Linked DNA regions of Homo sapiens: region 2 is linked to region 1. Evidence: promoter capture Hi-C in human tissues and cell types (Jung and others, 2019). All regions are on one chromosome and are shown on one strand. Each heading gives the region's core, a stretch centred on a gene start or on the middle of the fragment in contact. The rest is flanking DNA. Distances are from core to core; before and after follow the strand shown.

The links. The method cuts DNA at HindIII sites, captures the fragments that hold promoters and counts their contacts. A contact is called where the count stands out against the background at its distance.
Region 2: a contact is called between a fragment that was not itself captured here and the fragment with the promoter of DOK2 in region 1, in 1 of the 25 tissues and cell types used here (mesenchymal stem cells).

What each region holds. Positions count from the first base shown.
Region 1 is chr8:21,910,739-21,918,595 of GRCh38, reverse strand. It overlaps DOK2 (docking protein 2), which reads left to right and starts at 4,906. Exons shown (of 5, transcript NM_003974.4): 1 at 4,906-5,057; 2 at 6,086-6,367; 3 at 6,608-6,695; 4 at 7,739-7,857. The coding sequence starts at 4,995. RefSeq lists an enhancer at 6,889-6,988. The HindIII fragment of the contact is 2,220 bases long and covers 3,828-6,047 here.
Region 2 is chr8:20,322,660-20,330,516 of GRCh38, reverse strand. No RefSeq gene overlaps it. Among named protein-coding and RNA genes, the nearest start is that of LZTS1, 23 kb to the right of the region's middle. RefSeq lists an enhancer at 1,175-1,791. The HindIII fragment of the contact is 5,001 bases long and covers 506-5,506 here.

The DNA of each region.
Region 1 (7,857 bases), core at 3,657-6,156:
GGATGTAGTGGACCGGTGCTCAGCATTCATTTCGACTTCCGTCCTCCTAGTAGGTCTTCCTGGTTTGCAGAGGTAGGGCACCTGGAAACTACATTACCCAAACTTCCTTGCAGCTAGGGTTCTGTATGCAAATTAGGCTCTGCCAATTAGGCTGACTCAGAGAAGATTTAAGAGGCAGAAGATTTAAGTGGCAGAGCTTTTGACTGTTAACTTCTAGCGAGCATAGACCTTTTCAGATGTTGGGTTTTTGTTTTTCCCCAAAACCTCCCAGCGTCCAATCATTAGCTCCGAGCGTATAAAGAGGCGGGGTGATGGGGTCAGTGGCTTTCTGAACCTGGCATCGGGCAATGAAATATTCTCAGAGTCACAATTGCAATGGAAATTCTTTGGATTCCCTACTGGACTGAATAGAGGTAACAGTTTCACAGTGGGCCAGGCCCAAATTTCTGTCCACCCTCCCTTCCCCCACCCCCGCACCCCAACCTCCCCGTGTTTCTCCCTGTGTCTTCCCTTCCTCAGTAAATGGTACCACCATTCATCCAGTTGCTCCTAATAAACACTCAGGAGTTGGTTCTTCAAGTCTTATCAGTCCCCAACATGCAAGTCACCTGCAAGTCCTGTTCAATCTATATCTAATATATACCCAATATGACCACTTCTCCATCCATCTCCACTGTTAACACCTTGGTCCAAGCCACCATTACCTTTCTCCTGTGCTCTGGTAATAGATTCCTAATTAGTTTCCCTGCTTCCTGTCTTGCCCCTTGATAACCCATTTTCCATATAGCTGGACGCTGCAGAACATTATTTTATTTATTTGTTATTTTTTGAGACAGAGTCTTGCTCTGTTGCCGAGGCTGGAGTGCAATGGCGCCATCTCTGCTCACTGCAACCTCCGCCTCCCTGGTTCAAGCGATTCTCTTGCCTTAGCCTCCCAAGTAGCTGAGATTACATGCGCCCACCACCATACCTGGCTAATTTTTGGATTTTTAGTAGAGACAGGGTTTCACCACGTTGGCCAAGCTGGTCTGGAACTGCTGACCTCAGGTTATCCACTCGCCTCTGCCTCCCAAAGTGCTGGGATTACAGGTGTGAGCCACTGCGCCTGGCCAGAACATTCCTTTAAAATCATAATTCAGATAATTTACACTCCTACTTAAAATCCTTAAGTGGCCTCATGTTGCATTTAGAATTCGAATCTTTGCTGTGGCTCAAGAGGTCGTATGAGCTGACCTCACTCTACCATGCCCCCTCTGGCTCAATGCTCTGTGGTCATTCTGGCCTTGCAGTTCTGCAAAGCCAGGATCTCCTGCCTCAGGGCCTTTGCACTTGCAGTAACTTCTGCCTGGATTGGTTTCCCTTCAGATCGTGAAATGGCTGGCTCACTCTCCTCATGGACTTTTCAGCTCACTTGTCACCTCTCAGAGAGCCTTTTCTCACCACCCTCTTGAAAGTTGTCCCCTGTGCCTATCACTATCACAGCATTGATCACTGTCCAAAACTACATATTATTACTCTTTCATTATCAGTCCCTCCAACTAAAAGCAGACATAGTATAAACAAGGATTCTGTCTATGTTGTATCCCTAGTACCTCTGCACAGAGTAGATGCTCAGTAAATAATTGTTGAGGCGGGGCATGGTGGCTCACACCTTTAATCCCAGCACTTTGGGAGGCTGAGGGGGGTGGATCACCTGAGGTCAGGAGTTTGAGAGCAGCCTGGCCAACATGGTGAAACCCCGTCTATACTAAAAATACAAAAAATTAGCCAGGCATGGTGGTGTGCGCCTGTAATCCCAGCTACTCAGGAGGCTGAGGCAGGAGAATGGCTGGAACCCAGGAGACGGAGGTTGCAGTGAGCCGAGATCGTGCCACTGCATTACAGCCTGGACAACAGAGTAAGACTCCATCTCAAAAAATAAATAAAAATAAATTTAAAAAACTGTTGAATGTATTAACTTCTTTATGTCTCATTCTAGGGTGCATGTGGGTTTCATATGAAGACATAAAGCATTCTAAATATTATGTCACTGTTAGGTAACATGTTATGTTATGTTATGTTATGTTATGTTATGTTATGTTATGTTATGTTATGTTATAGGCCCTTCCTCTCAGCGGGTTTCTAGAACTGGGTTCTCTCTTTCCTTAGTACTGAGAAAAGTGATAGACTTAATGGAGAAAGGGTGGGGGGCTACAAATGAAGCTCAAGAGACTGGCATTGTCCCCCTCCCACACCCCACAGTCAGGGACCACTGGGGGTGGAAGGGGCAGGGATGGGGTCCTTCAGAATACACGCTCACTAATTCTTTCGCTCAGTCCTTCACCCGTCTCAGGCCCACATCAGTTCTCTGCCTATCCTATACGTACTTACCTGTTGTGTGCCCAGAACTACCCCTTAGCTAGCTTCCCTACCTGCACATCATTTGAGGGTTACCTAATCCCCAAGCCGGCCCAAGGAGTCAGACACAGTCTCCTCTCCTCCTTCCTTTGTTGCCCCAAAGACAAGGTCCCAGCCCTCTTATGTTAGGATTGGGTTGCTAATCACTGCAGCAGAATAGTAATGAAAATTTCTTGGAGCTGTGGTTCCTGACTCCTGCTGAGAGAAACTGTTGTAAGGGACAGGATCCCAGTGGCTTAGAATGAGCCACAGGTGGGGTTTGGAGTGCCTTTTCCTTTCCCGTAAAAACAAAGACAAGCCAAGAGGCACCCTCAACTCCTTTACAGTGCTTTTTCTACACATCATTGGTGCCTGTGGACCCTAAGGGCTTCTCATTCTGTGCGCTTCTGCTGTGTCTTGGAGCAATGTCTCTGGGCTCCTGTTTACAGGGTTTCCCCATGGCTAGGCAGAAGGTACTGGGGTTAGTGCTTCTACATCAGGGTCGCCACAAATCCTGCTAGGGACAGTTGAAGGGGCCTAGAAGGACTGCAAGGGTGTTGCTCTTGGTATATACTCTGCTGCCCTATCTTCTGCAGTCAACGGCTACCGGAGAACTCCTCCAGCTTCCATAAGCAAGGGATGACAAGGGAGTGTCTGGATTGCCTGGGGTTCAGGCCTCCGGGTTTAAACAACTTTCAAGTAATCTGGTAAACTTGGGTGCCCCCCTGTGGTTCTGAGTGGAATGTGTCCATTTTGCCTTCAGGGAAGGCGATCAGGTTAGCAGGGGACATCCTCTGTCACCTTGCTACTCAGTGTGCTTTGACCCACCCACCACCGGCAGCATCTCAGGGCTCATTCCAGACCTACTTTATTGGAGTCTACTTTGAACAAGATCTACATGTTACAGTTTGGAAGGCACTGCTCTGGCAGCCCCTAAGATGGCCATAAAGCCCTCCTCTTCTCACTCCCTGCACCAAAGACCATGCAGCTCCCAGGCAGAGTTGACTCTCCTTAGGGACTAAAGAGGAAGATTAGGTCACATCCCATTTCCATACCCCTAACCACTTCCCAAGGTGTGCTTTTCCCAAAACAGTATGCTTGGTTCTCCCTTGAGCTTTGGATCAACCTCTTCAAACCCAGGCATCACGGCTGAGGGCAGTGAGTTTGAAGTGACTCATCCTTGTCCTCACAGAGCTCATGACATTCATTTTTTTCAAGCTTATTTGGTCCAGTCCATGGCATGTACAGCAGAAGGCCTAAGCTGTGCACGGTGCTGCTCGCTCCTTGCCACGGTAACTGAACCCCTGTTGTAGAGGAAATGGGCCTGTTTATATAAGCACCTGTTATGGGATTAACCCCAAGAGTGTTGGTCTGAGTCTCAGTTTTTTCCAACCCTTCTGCACTGTGCCTCCATACAGATTGCTTCTCTAAACCATCTGGCTTTAAGTTAAACTTCTCTGAGCAGCTTGGATTTCCCCACAGCAATGGATCTTTTTGCATGGATCTGGATTCCATTTAGGGGCCCTGCAAAATGTTGAATTAAAGATCAGGAGCCCTGGTCTCTACTTCTTCCTCTGCCCCCAACTACCTCTGTGACCTCAGGCAAGTTGCAAATAAGTGTGTTCATACCTGCCCTGCCTTTGTCAAAGGATGGCGTGGCTGATGAAAAGTGTGTGCCTAGAAGCTTTGCGAGCTACGAAGCACTTTCGGTAACTCTGAACCATTTTCAAAATGTATATGAAAGTGATTGCTATTGAAACTTAAGATAATTTGCAGATGAAACCTAAGCATCTTTCTAATGCTCAGGAATGCTTGCAAGAAGGCAAAAATCCAACAGTTGAGATGTACTTGGGGAGTCAGTCCCTTCTCCAGAGGGGATGATCATCTTTCTAGAATCTTTACAGGGTTGGTGTGAGTGTGTGTTGTTGGCAGACAGGGAGTGCTCGCATGTAGTTAAACGGTTGCCTCTCTCTCTCTCTCTCTCTCTGTGTGTGTGTGTTTGTGAAACTGGTATCTGGTTAGGCCCACATGAGCTGTCTTATGTGTCTCTCTGTGCAGTGCCGTGTGTGTCATTCAGCTGTTAAGCGTTGAGAGACCTGGGTTCTGGTTTGGTGACCTTGAATAAATCCCTCAGACTTTCCAAGCCTGTTTCCTTATTTGTAACTTAGTGGTTTGTCCCTTCCAACTTGCGTACAGCTTGGAGGGGGGGGCCTTCACTACTGATTTCACTGTCTAGTTTGGTTTCTGGGTCTCTGTTCCAGTGGGCCAGCCACTCTTTGCTGGCGCCTCCCTGTGCCAACTTCTGTACCTGAATTGTTGCTCACTGAAGAGCTGGCATTTAGCTTTTTGGAAATTGTCTCTAACTCACTGGAAATGCAGGAAGCTTGAGTATAAAACTCACTCAGAAAAAAAAAAAAAAAAGAAAAAAAAGAACACACACTCAGAAGAAACCGCAGGGCCTATCAGCCTGTCGTCATCGAGCAGACTAGAATAGTATAGAAAACCCTAGGCAGAGAGGAAATGAACTTCAGAGAAGGGAAACACACGGCTAAGAAGAGAGAGGCAAGGGCAGGAGTGAAGGAGAGAGCTGAAGCCTGGGGCTCCGAGATGGTCAGAGGATGGGAGACGGGGCAGTGAAACAAGGCTTCTTGTATCTTCAGCAGCAGCAGACGTTTGGAAAGGTAGGAGTGAGGCTGGGCTGGGGTTGGGCAGGGGGCCTGGGAGGCTGCTAGAATTCCTGGGTTGGAGAGGGAGTTTCATATTCAAAACCCTTATAGGTCTGACTGTGCACCCACCAAGTTAGACCCAGAGCTCAACTTTGGGAGGGCTCTTTTCCTACCCGACGCTGTCTCCTGAACCAGGCCCCAACCAGGTCCCAAACTGTGCTCCTTACTGAGGGCTGTTTGCCCTGGGTGGGGGTGGGGGATGTGCTGCTTTCATCTCTTGCCTCTTTTGCTCTCTTGCTCTATGTTGACTTCTTTTCACCGGACACCTTGGAAGGGAATGGAAGGGGCAGCTGGAGGGACAGTTTAGGATGACAATAGAGGTTCCTTCCCAACCCCAGTGGGGTGCATGTGGCTGGTGTTCAGCTTGGGCTGGGGCCTCTGGGGGCCTGGACCCCAGCCGGCTGTCCATCCTCTTTCCCCTTCCCTGGCCTCCTTGAACCAGGAAGTCCTCGTCCCCTAACCAACACTGGGGGGCACACCTGTCTCTCTCTCATGGCCCAACCTATCAAGGAATGAGGCAGCAAGGTTCAGGAGGGTGGAGAGAAGTTCTCCTTCAGGATTTCGCACAGAAGGAGAATGAGGTCTCCAGCCCGGGTCACACGCCGCCCTCCTCACTCCCTCCTCTGGGCCTCGGCCACTGCCCCGCTTTCCTCCCCAGACTGGAGTCCACTGCGGTGGGCCTGTTTGGCCTTCTTGCAGCCTGCTTTGGGCTCATCCCGGCGTTGCTTTCTGCCTGGGCAGTCTCTGCTCTTGCTCGTGGGCCTCCTTCTCGGGGCTGGCGGCTGATCTCCGATTTTCTAATTCCTGCAGTCACTGTCCTCTTCTCTGCCTCCCTGGGTCTCATGTGATCTTCACCTCTCTCTCCCCATCTCCAAGTGGCTGCCCCAGTCCCCCTCCCACGGTTCCTCTTCTCCCCTTGGCTCACGATCTCCCCGTCTCTGGGTGGCTCCCTCCCGCCCCCGCCTCCCACGCCTCTGGCACAGAAATGGCGCCGCTTCGGCGCCTCACTGTATGGAGGGTCGGACTGCGCCTTGGCCCGGCTGGAGCTGCAGGAGGGCCCGGAGAAGCCTCGTCGGTGTGAGGCTGCCCGGAAGGTCATCCGCCTCAGTGACTGCCTGCGGGTGGCCGAGGCCGGCGGAGAGGCCAGCAGCCCCCGGGACACCAGTGCCTTCTTCCTGGAGACCAAGGAGCGCCTGTACCTCCTGGCGGCCCCTGCAGCGGAGCGCGGCGACTGGGTGCAGGCCATCTGCCTCCTGGCCTTCCCCGTGAGTCGCGCGGGGTGCGGAAAGGGCAAGGGGGCGTGCAGGCCGAGGGTGTTAGATACTTCCTGTGGGCAAGTGTTACAGGTGTCAAGGTCAGGGTGATGGGGTGCTTCCTCCATGTGGGGGGACCCGAACCCAGTGTGCAGACAGAGCCAGCAGGTTGAGGTGGCCTGAAAGAAGGCCTGGGCCAGAGGGGGGCCTGGGGATCGGGGAAGGTGATGAGACGGGGCGCCTCCTCCCTAGGGGCAGAGGAAGGAGCTCTCGGGGCCAGAGGGAAAGCAGAGCCGGCCCTGCATGGAGGAAAATGAATTGTACAGCAGCGCAGTCACAGGTGAGGGGGCGGGGGCTGCCCTGCTCTCCCCTGGGGGCTCTCCCCAGGGTGAGGTGGAGAGGAGGTGTGGGCTGGCTAGCTGCTGGCCCCGAGTCTTCCTGCCTTGTGGTTATCCCCAGCCTGGGCCAGCCCCGTTATCAGCCTCTCCTTCTCGCTTCCGGGTGCAGCCCAACGTAGGGAGCCTACCCTGCCTTGAGTCTCTCCCTTGGTTCACCTCATCTTACCTAGGGCCTGCTGGTGGGAGAGGGGAAGGCTGGGGGCCCAGGTGAGGGTGCTGCTTTTTTCTATTTTTGAGACGGAGTTTTGCTCTTGTCGCTCAGGCTGGAGTGCAATGGCACAATCTCGGCTCACTGCAACCGCCGCTTCCCGGGTTCAAGCGATTCTCCTGCCTCAGCCTCCTGAGCAGCTGGGATTACAGGCGTCGGCCACCACGCCTGGCTAATTTTTTGTATTTTTAGTAGAGTCGGGGTTTCACCATGTTGGCCAGGCTGGTCTCAAACTCCTGACATCAGGTGATCCACCTGCCTCAGCCTCCCAAAGTGTTGGGATTACAGGCATGAGCCACTGCGCCTGGCCCCAGGTGTTGCTTTTGAGGAGCTGGTGGAGGGAGGAGAAACTTTCATCTGCCTTCCATCTAAGCTTCACCCCCAGGGCCCCGGCAGTGGGAGGGCAGGGCCAAGGCTTCACCTGCAGCTGTGACCGTAGGGACTAGGGTGGTGGCTGGTTTGGGGTGAGAGATGGGGTGGGGAAGACAAGACTGTGGCTCTGGCGACAGGGGCAGGAAGGATGTGGGCACGAGGTTGGGGTGGATGTGGGTAGGGGCGTGATGCCTACTAGGGTAGGGGGTGGAGGTACCTGGCCTTTTGGGGAGTATGACCTGGCACAGAGCAGCTCAGCCTCCAAGACCCAGGCAGGGGGCCATAAGTGTGTGGATAATACTTTCTAGAAAAGTTCTGGTACGCTCATTTAGAACTGGGCAGTGGTGAGGCAGGCCAGCTGTTTCCCATTAACTGCCTTCGCCTTCTCTCTCTTCTTCTCCCCAGTCGGCCCCCACAAGGAATTTGCTGTGACCATGAGACCTACAGAAGCCAGTGAGAGGTGCCACCTGCGGGGGTCCTATACCCTCCGGGCTGGGGAGAGTGCCCTGGAGCTGTGGGGTGGG
Region 2 (7,857 bases), core at 1,757-4,256, 1.6 Mb after region 1:
AAAAAAAAAAAAATTGGCCGGGCGTGGTGGCATGCACCTGTAGTCCCAGCTACTGAGGTAGAAGAATCGCTTGAACCCAGGAGGTGGAGGCAGTGAGCAGAGATGGCGCCACTGCACTCCAGCCTAGGGAATAGAGCAAGACTCCGTCTCAAAAAAAAAAAAAAAAAAAAAAAAAAGGTGACTGGATCTTTATTCTTTTGAGTCTGATCCATTCTCAATGCTGAAAAACACTGAGTCGTGTCTAAGCTTTAGGCTGCCTCATCATCCCCTTCCCATTAAGGAAAGACAGCAAGTATTCCATAGTCTCAACACATAGGCTTTAGATGAGAACGAAGGCCCAGACAGGGAGGAATCGACAAGAATCATGAATTAGGAAACAGAAAACCTTGTTTCTGGTCTTACCACTGACCCTAACCTATGGCAGTGCATTGAACAAGTTACTTAACCTCTCTCTGTCCTAGTTTTGGAGCATTTGTAAATCAAGGTGTGTAGGAAAAGCTTTAAATTCAAGCTTAAATTCGAGCTTAAATGTAAAACCCTTGGGGCCTTTAAATTCCATTGTAAGCCCCCAAGGAAATGCCTTGTTTCATTAAATACCTGTGGGCAAAATTGCAAACTGAAGTTCGAATCTTGAACCTCCAGACTGTCTAATCCTAGACAATTAATGGTGCAACATCTGCTCCGTTTTTCTAATCCCCGGCCCTATATCTGACTACACAGAACACATGCCGCCACTCTCTGATGCAGCAGAAGTCTGTCTGAAAATAAGCTAAACCAGATCCTTTTGGGGACTTGCTCATGGCTCCCACTGAATTTTAACTTGCAAAAAGCTCTCCCTTGCGGGGGCGTTAAGAGGATCTAATGTGATACTGTACATGAGAGCACAGAAACCAGCCTGGCTTCAGAAGCGTTTCTACTGGAAGTTTATTGTTGAAAGTTGTGGGGTTTGATAGAGCATTACCCAGGGACTAATCCCGCCGCTCCCAACCCTCCTCCTCTTCCGCCTCTGTTTATGCTCTTAGTTCCGGTGCCTCCGACGATGACAAAGAAGGGTCAGCGCTGACTCACAGCAGCGCTGTGAATACCATGACCCTGGTGGGCTGCAGGGCCTGAGATGTTTATTTCATTTCCCTTTCATTCCGTACTCAGCTGGGCTCTCAGGGAAGGAGAGGGAAAGTAGCCCACACTGACTAACCAGTCAAGAAACACTTACTGAGCCCTAGTCAAGTACTGCGCATTACGAGAAAACATGAGAACACATCGAACGCCCAGGGCTTTAGAGCTGTGCAGGGACTTGATGAGAACCCCATGCCCCGGCTTCCTTAAACAAGGTCACCAGCCCTGAGAAAGAACACTTTGGCTGTGTTGGAGTGTGTGGGGGCTGGGAGAGGCCTGGGATGGAGGTTGCTGGAAAGTGCTTATGACCAAGGGGCCTCAGTGCATTCATGCATTCCATTTAAACATGTCAACATATCCTCAACCTGGGCATAGGGGCATGCACTTGCAATCTCAGCTGCTCAGGAGGTGGAAGTGGGAGGATCCCTTGAGTTCAGGAGTGCAAGACCAGCCTCTAAAAAATAGCAAAAGAATGAGACCCTATCTCTTAAAACAAAAGAAAAAATATATATCTTACCAACATCATCAGTCATTAGTCAGTGGACTGACTTTTCTTCAGATTTGAATGCTTTGGAGGGTATAGATGAGTGTCCTGAACTAAACACTCTTTCACAGAAAGAAGTGGGACAGATGGAAGAAAGAAAGTGGCGACTGTTTATCCCTCACTCCTCTTCTCCAGCCCCCACCCCAGTAACAAATCCAGAAACCCCAAACTCTGAGGGGCCACAGTTACTGTTTTGTGTGTTTGTGCAATTGGGCAGCTGCCTCTACCCTATCAAAACGTGCAGGGGAGACGATTCCCATAAAAGCGGAGGAAGATGTTACAAGTCCAGCCCCATGGGACCATGCCTGACGGCAGAGCCAAGACGCTGGGAGTTCAGCACAATAGGGTGCCTCCACACCACGCTATCTGGGGTGAGCTTTCTGCCCAAAGGAGGAAATAAGAACAGCTGCTATCAATTGCAGACCACTCACCAGGGGCCAGACACCATGCTAAATGCTTTAGTTGCATTATCTCCTTAACTCTTGATACCACCACTACCCACGCCCTCCAGGGAGCTATAATTCTCTCTAATAAAGGCAGAGAGCAGTGAAGTGACTTGGTCCAGTTAACACAGATAGCAAGAAGAGGAGGGAAGATGCTTATCAGGTTTGTCTAATTTCGAATTCTGTGTTGATCTATTCCTGATACTGCTTGCCAGAAAAGAAGTTGGAAGCTCTAGAAAGAGGGTGGAGGAGGGGAGAAGATGATGACAGAGGCAGGAGGGAATATAAGGGCGAAGCCTATTGATCCAGTCTGGGTTCAGCAAGGGGAGAGCTTCAGCTTTGGAACAGGATAGAGCCTGTTTCCCGGAAGCACCCTTTAGGTCAGGGAACAGCACAAAGTGGTAAGATCTGTCTTCTGTATCTGCATCTGTAGACGAAGGTCTTGGGAAGAGATTCTCCAGGAACTGAGAGTAATTAGCAGACTTTCTGAGAACTCGCACTCAGAGTTCATGGAAGCGTCCTAACTTTTCCAGACATAATTGCAGATCGAGGCACTTGTACACGGCTCCCACACCATGGTGGGCAACGACAATAAGAAGGGACCACCAGTGACAAGGGCAGGTCTGTGAGGTAATCCAATGGTGACAGAGTATCCAACAGCCACAGGCATAGAGGGAAGGGGACCGGCTTTCCAGTGCCTGTTGCTGTTGTTGGTATTTCTGGACCCAGCCTTCCCCAAGCGCCTTAAGAAAACTGCCCGGGGAGGTGAACTCTCCTCTGCCCCATGCAGTCTTCAGAAACATCACTGAGAAGGAGACCCTTTTATTGTTTTCAATGCTCTGAAGACTTGAATGGCTGGAGGACCTCAATCAAGTGCAAAATCAGCAAGGTACACTCCTTTACTCATTCTCATTGCACAAAGAAGTGCCAAACATGATGTCTACCTTCAAGATGTAGGCATTTTTGTTTTGTATCATTTTGTTTGTCTTTTAAGAGAGTTACTGAGATGTAATTCACATACCTTACAATTCACACAATTGAAGTGTACCATTTAACGATTTTTAGTATAGTCACAGAATTGTGAAGCCATCACTACAATCAATTTTAAAATATTTCATCACCCAAAAAGGAGCCCTGTACCCATTAGTAGGCAATCCCCATTTCCCTTCAAATGACCCCCTTTCCCTGGTCCTAGGCAACCACTAACCCACTTTCTGTCTCTGTAGATTTGTGTATTCTGAACATTTTGTGTCAATGGAATCACACAGTATGTGGTCTTTTGTGACTGGTTTCTTTCACTGAGCATGTGTTTTCAAGGTTCATTCATGTTGCAGCATATGCAAGCACTTCATCCCTTTTTATACTGAGTCGCATTCCATGGTATGCATATCCATACCACATTTTGTTTATCCATCACCAGTTGATAGACATTTGGGTTGTTTCCACTTTGGGGCTCTTATGAATAGTGTAGCTGTGAACATTCATGCGTAAATTTTTGTGTAGATGTAACTTTTAATTCCTCCTGGGTACATAAAAGAGGTGAAATTACTGGGTCATATGGTAACTCTATAAACAGGTTTTTTCAAGAACTGCGAGACTGTTTTCCGAAGTAGCTACACTCATCAGCAATGTTTGAGATTGCAATTTCTCTATATTCTCATCAACACTTATTATTACCTGTCTTTTTTCCTAGCCATCCTAGCGAGTGTGGTATCTTATTGCATTTTTTATTAACACTTAAACAATTTTTTTTTTTTTTTTTTTGAGACCAGGTCTTGTTCTGTCACCCAGGCTGGAGTGCAGTGGTGCACTCACGGCTCACTGCAGCCTCGACCTCCTGGGCCCAAGTGATCCTCCCACCTCACCCTCCTGAGTATCTAGGACCACAGGTGTGCACCATCATGCCTGCCTAGTTTTTTTAATTTTAATTTTTTTAGAGATGGGATCTCTCTATGTTGCTCAGACTGGTCTCAAATACCTGGGCTCAAGTGATCCTTTTTCCTTGGCTTCCCAAAGTGCTAGAATGACAGGTGTGAGCCACCATGCCTAGACCTTTTATTGCATTTTGATTTATATTTTTCTAATGAGTAATGATATTGAGCATCCTTTCATGTATTTATGGGCATTTCTGTGTCCTCTTTGGAGAAATATCTATTTAGATCCTTTGCCTACTTTTTAATTGAGTTATTTGTCCTTTTATTATTTACTTGTAAGAGTTCTTTATATATTCTGAATATTCTGATATCTTTTTTCAGATATCTAAGAAATCATTGCCTAAACCAAGGTCATAAATATTTTACCTGTTTCCTTCTAAGAGTTTTACAGTTTTAGCTCATACATCTAAATCTACTATTTTGAGTTTTTCTTTCTTTTTTTTTTTTGGTATGGTGTGTGGTGGGGGTCCAAATCCATTTTTATTTTTTGGCACGTGGATATCTAGTTGCCCCAGCACCATTTGCTGAAAACACTGTTCTTTCCCTTATTAAATGTCATGGCACCTATGCTGAAAATCAACTGACTAGCTTACCATCCTGTTTGAGGAGCAGGTTACATCACATCACTGAAAAGGACAAGATACCTATGAGAATTGAGGTAGCCACAGGTGTTGCTGTTAGACTTAACAAAAAACCATTCAGATGATTAAATACTTCAGAGTCCAATTAAACAGTGCTAAGAATGGCAAAAGTTTAGAATCAAGATAAACTAAAGCTTACAAAATGCAAGCATGACAACGTAAAGGGCTTTGTTGGTTTGTTTCTTTTTAACATATCTCTAGAGCAAAACTTAGAGAAAAGAAGGGACGGACTTCCAGTTTGGGAACTCTGTTGCATAGTAGATTTATCAAACACCACTCTTACATTCCTATTTAATGCAACCTCTTCCACATGGATGGGGGGGGCACATCCCCCTCATTCAAGATTCTTCTTACATAGGAAGGTGTGACACTCCTGGACTCTCTGGACTTCTCACTTTCCAGGGGAAAAAGTATATTTTAACAGGATTCATGAATTTGAAGAGAAGAAACTGAGGATGCTCAGCTCAGCTCAGTTCTTCCCTTTTTCATCTTGGGAATGAGCTGCCTATGGGGAGCAGCAGTTTTTTAATTTAAGGAGTTAGGAAGCATACTTGCCCAAAGATGTAAGCCACATCTTAAGATTTTGCCTTCGGCCGAACGCGGTGGCCCACGCCTGTAATCCCAGCACTTTGGGAGGCCGAGGTGGGTGGATCACGAGGTCAGGAGATCGAGACCATCCTGGCTAACACAGTGAAACCCCGTGTCTACTAAAAATACAAAAAATTAGCCGGACGTGGTTGCGGGTGCCTGTAGTCCCAGCTACTCGGGAGGCTGAGGCAGGAGAACGGCATGAACGTGGTGGGTAGAGTTTGCAGTGAGCAGAGATCGCGCCACTGCACTCCAGCCTGGGGGACAGAGCAAGACTCCATTTCAAAAAAAAAAAAAAGACTTTGCTTTCATCTGTATCAGAACTGAGGTAGGGAAAGGAGAAGCCATTGATGGAGAGCACACTCAGAGACACCATCATTTGTTGCATGGGTCAGGAATACTGAGAATTAAGACAGGTGTATTAGTCCATTTTTATGCTGCTGACAAAGACATACCTGAGACTGGGTAATTTATAAAGAAAAAGAGGTTTAATGGACTCACAGTTCCACTGGCTCTGGAGGCCTCACAATCATGGTGGAAGGCAAAAGGCATGTCTTACATGGCAGCAGGCAAAGAGAGAATGAGAACCAAGGAAAAAGGGACACCTTTTATAAAACTATTGAGAACAGTATGGGGGAAACTGACCCCATGATTCAATTATCTCCCACCAGGTCCCTCCCACAACACATGGGAATCATGGGAGCTACAATTCAAGATGAGATTTGGGTGGGGACACAGCCAAATTATATCAACAGGAAATGGAGTTTTGAAACCAAAATAACACATGAAAAGGTTTTTTGGTAGGGCCAGGGTGCATGGGTATTGATCTGGGCAAGGCCCTGGGGCCTTAGGTGGTTGTGGAGGTTTATATTGAGCCAGTTAGATTTTTAGCCATTGTGCATTTGGTTTTTAATTACTGCACCCTGAGCAAAAGCTTATAATGGCTTTGTTCACTGGAGAGAGGCTGTTTCCATAGAGTCGAAACTGAATTATGGGCCAGGCACACAGTGGCTCACGCCTGTAATCCCAGCACTTTGTTCACTGGAGAGAGGCTGTTTCCGTAAAGTCGAAACTGAATTATGGGCCAGGCACACAGTGGCTCACCCCTGTAATCCCAGCACTTTGGGAGGCCGAGAAAGACAGATCATTTGAGGTCAGGAGTTCGAGACCAGCCTATCCAACATGGTGAAATCCCATTTCTACTAAAAATAAAAAAAGTCAGGCATGGTGGTGGGCACCTGTAATCCCAGCTACTCAGAAAGCTGAGGCAGGAGAATCAGTTGAACCCGGGAGGCGGAGGTTGCAGTGAGCCGAGATCACGCCACTGCACTCCAGCCTGGGTGACCAAACAAGATTCCATCTCAAAAAAAAAAAAAGGGGGACTGAATTATGGGCAGCTTCCAGCAAATGCTGCTCAGGCTGTACCTGCCTTAAGCAAAAGTACTCAGGCCATATGATTGGCCAGAGAAAACACCAGCCTAGTAAGTCAACTATGGCCTCAATACAGAAACAGTAGTGTCCAGGCCACCTGCTGCAATTTATTATGCAGAAGCAGCTTAGACCTGCATCCCAGGCTAGGCTGAGATGGGATTTGATCTTTTCAGTCTTTACAGGGCAGAGCAATATCAGTTCCTTTTAAAAAGCAAGGCATCTTAGTTCTGAGTTTGTTACAGGGTACTACTGAGGCTCTAATTTTAAATTATTAGTGCCAGGGCCAGACACGGTGGCTCATATCTGTAACCCCAGCACTTTGGGAGGCTGAGGCAGGCAGATCAACAGAGGTCAGGAGTTCAAAACCAGCCTGGCCAACATGGTGAAACCCCATCTCTACCAAAAAATACAAAAATTAGCCAGGCATGATGGCATGCACCTGTAGTCCCAACTACTGGGGAGGTTGAGGTGGGAGGATCACTTGAACCCAGGAGGCAGAGGTTGCAGTGAGCCGAGATCACACCACTGCACTCCAGCCTGGGCAACAGAGTAAGACCCTGACTCAAAAAAACAAATTATTAGTTCCAGGCCTAAGTTGGCAGAGCCAAATTTGCTTTCCTGAATATCATTTTACATTCAGGTTCAAGGAGGGGCCTCTGGAAGAAGTAATTTTGTATTCATGAGCCTTATTCTAAGATGCAAACAAAAAATAAAATAATAGTATTTCCAGGTGACTTTCAAGGTAATTCATGTATTGTACGTAGACACTGGGCACTGCTCAGGCCCTGTGGCCATGTGTCCAAGACATGTATAGAATTTAGAAGTCTAGAAAATGCAGTGCCTTGAGAAGTCAAGGTGGAAAAATTCGTTCTTTCTGGGTCATGGAGGCAAAGCGTTTAAAAGCCCATAGCAGCTCCTCGCCAGAATCATCAGAGGGTAATTTTTCCAGCTTAAAAAAATGTGGACATGAGGTCAAAACCTTCTGTAGAAGGTTCTTGGTCTTAAACAATTCCAAAATAAGAATCAGTGGCAGCCCTTGTTGTGGCCCAGAACTGAAAATATCTGCTCACTTGATAGAACGGAGGCCGTGTTACCCATCAGGGCTCACTCCTCAATGAAGCACTGAAATTCCAGAACTCAGGGCTACAGAGATAATGTAA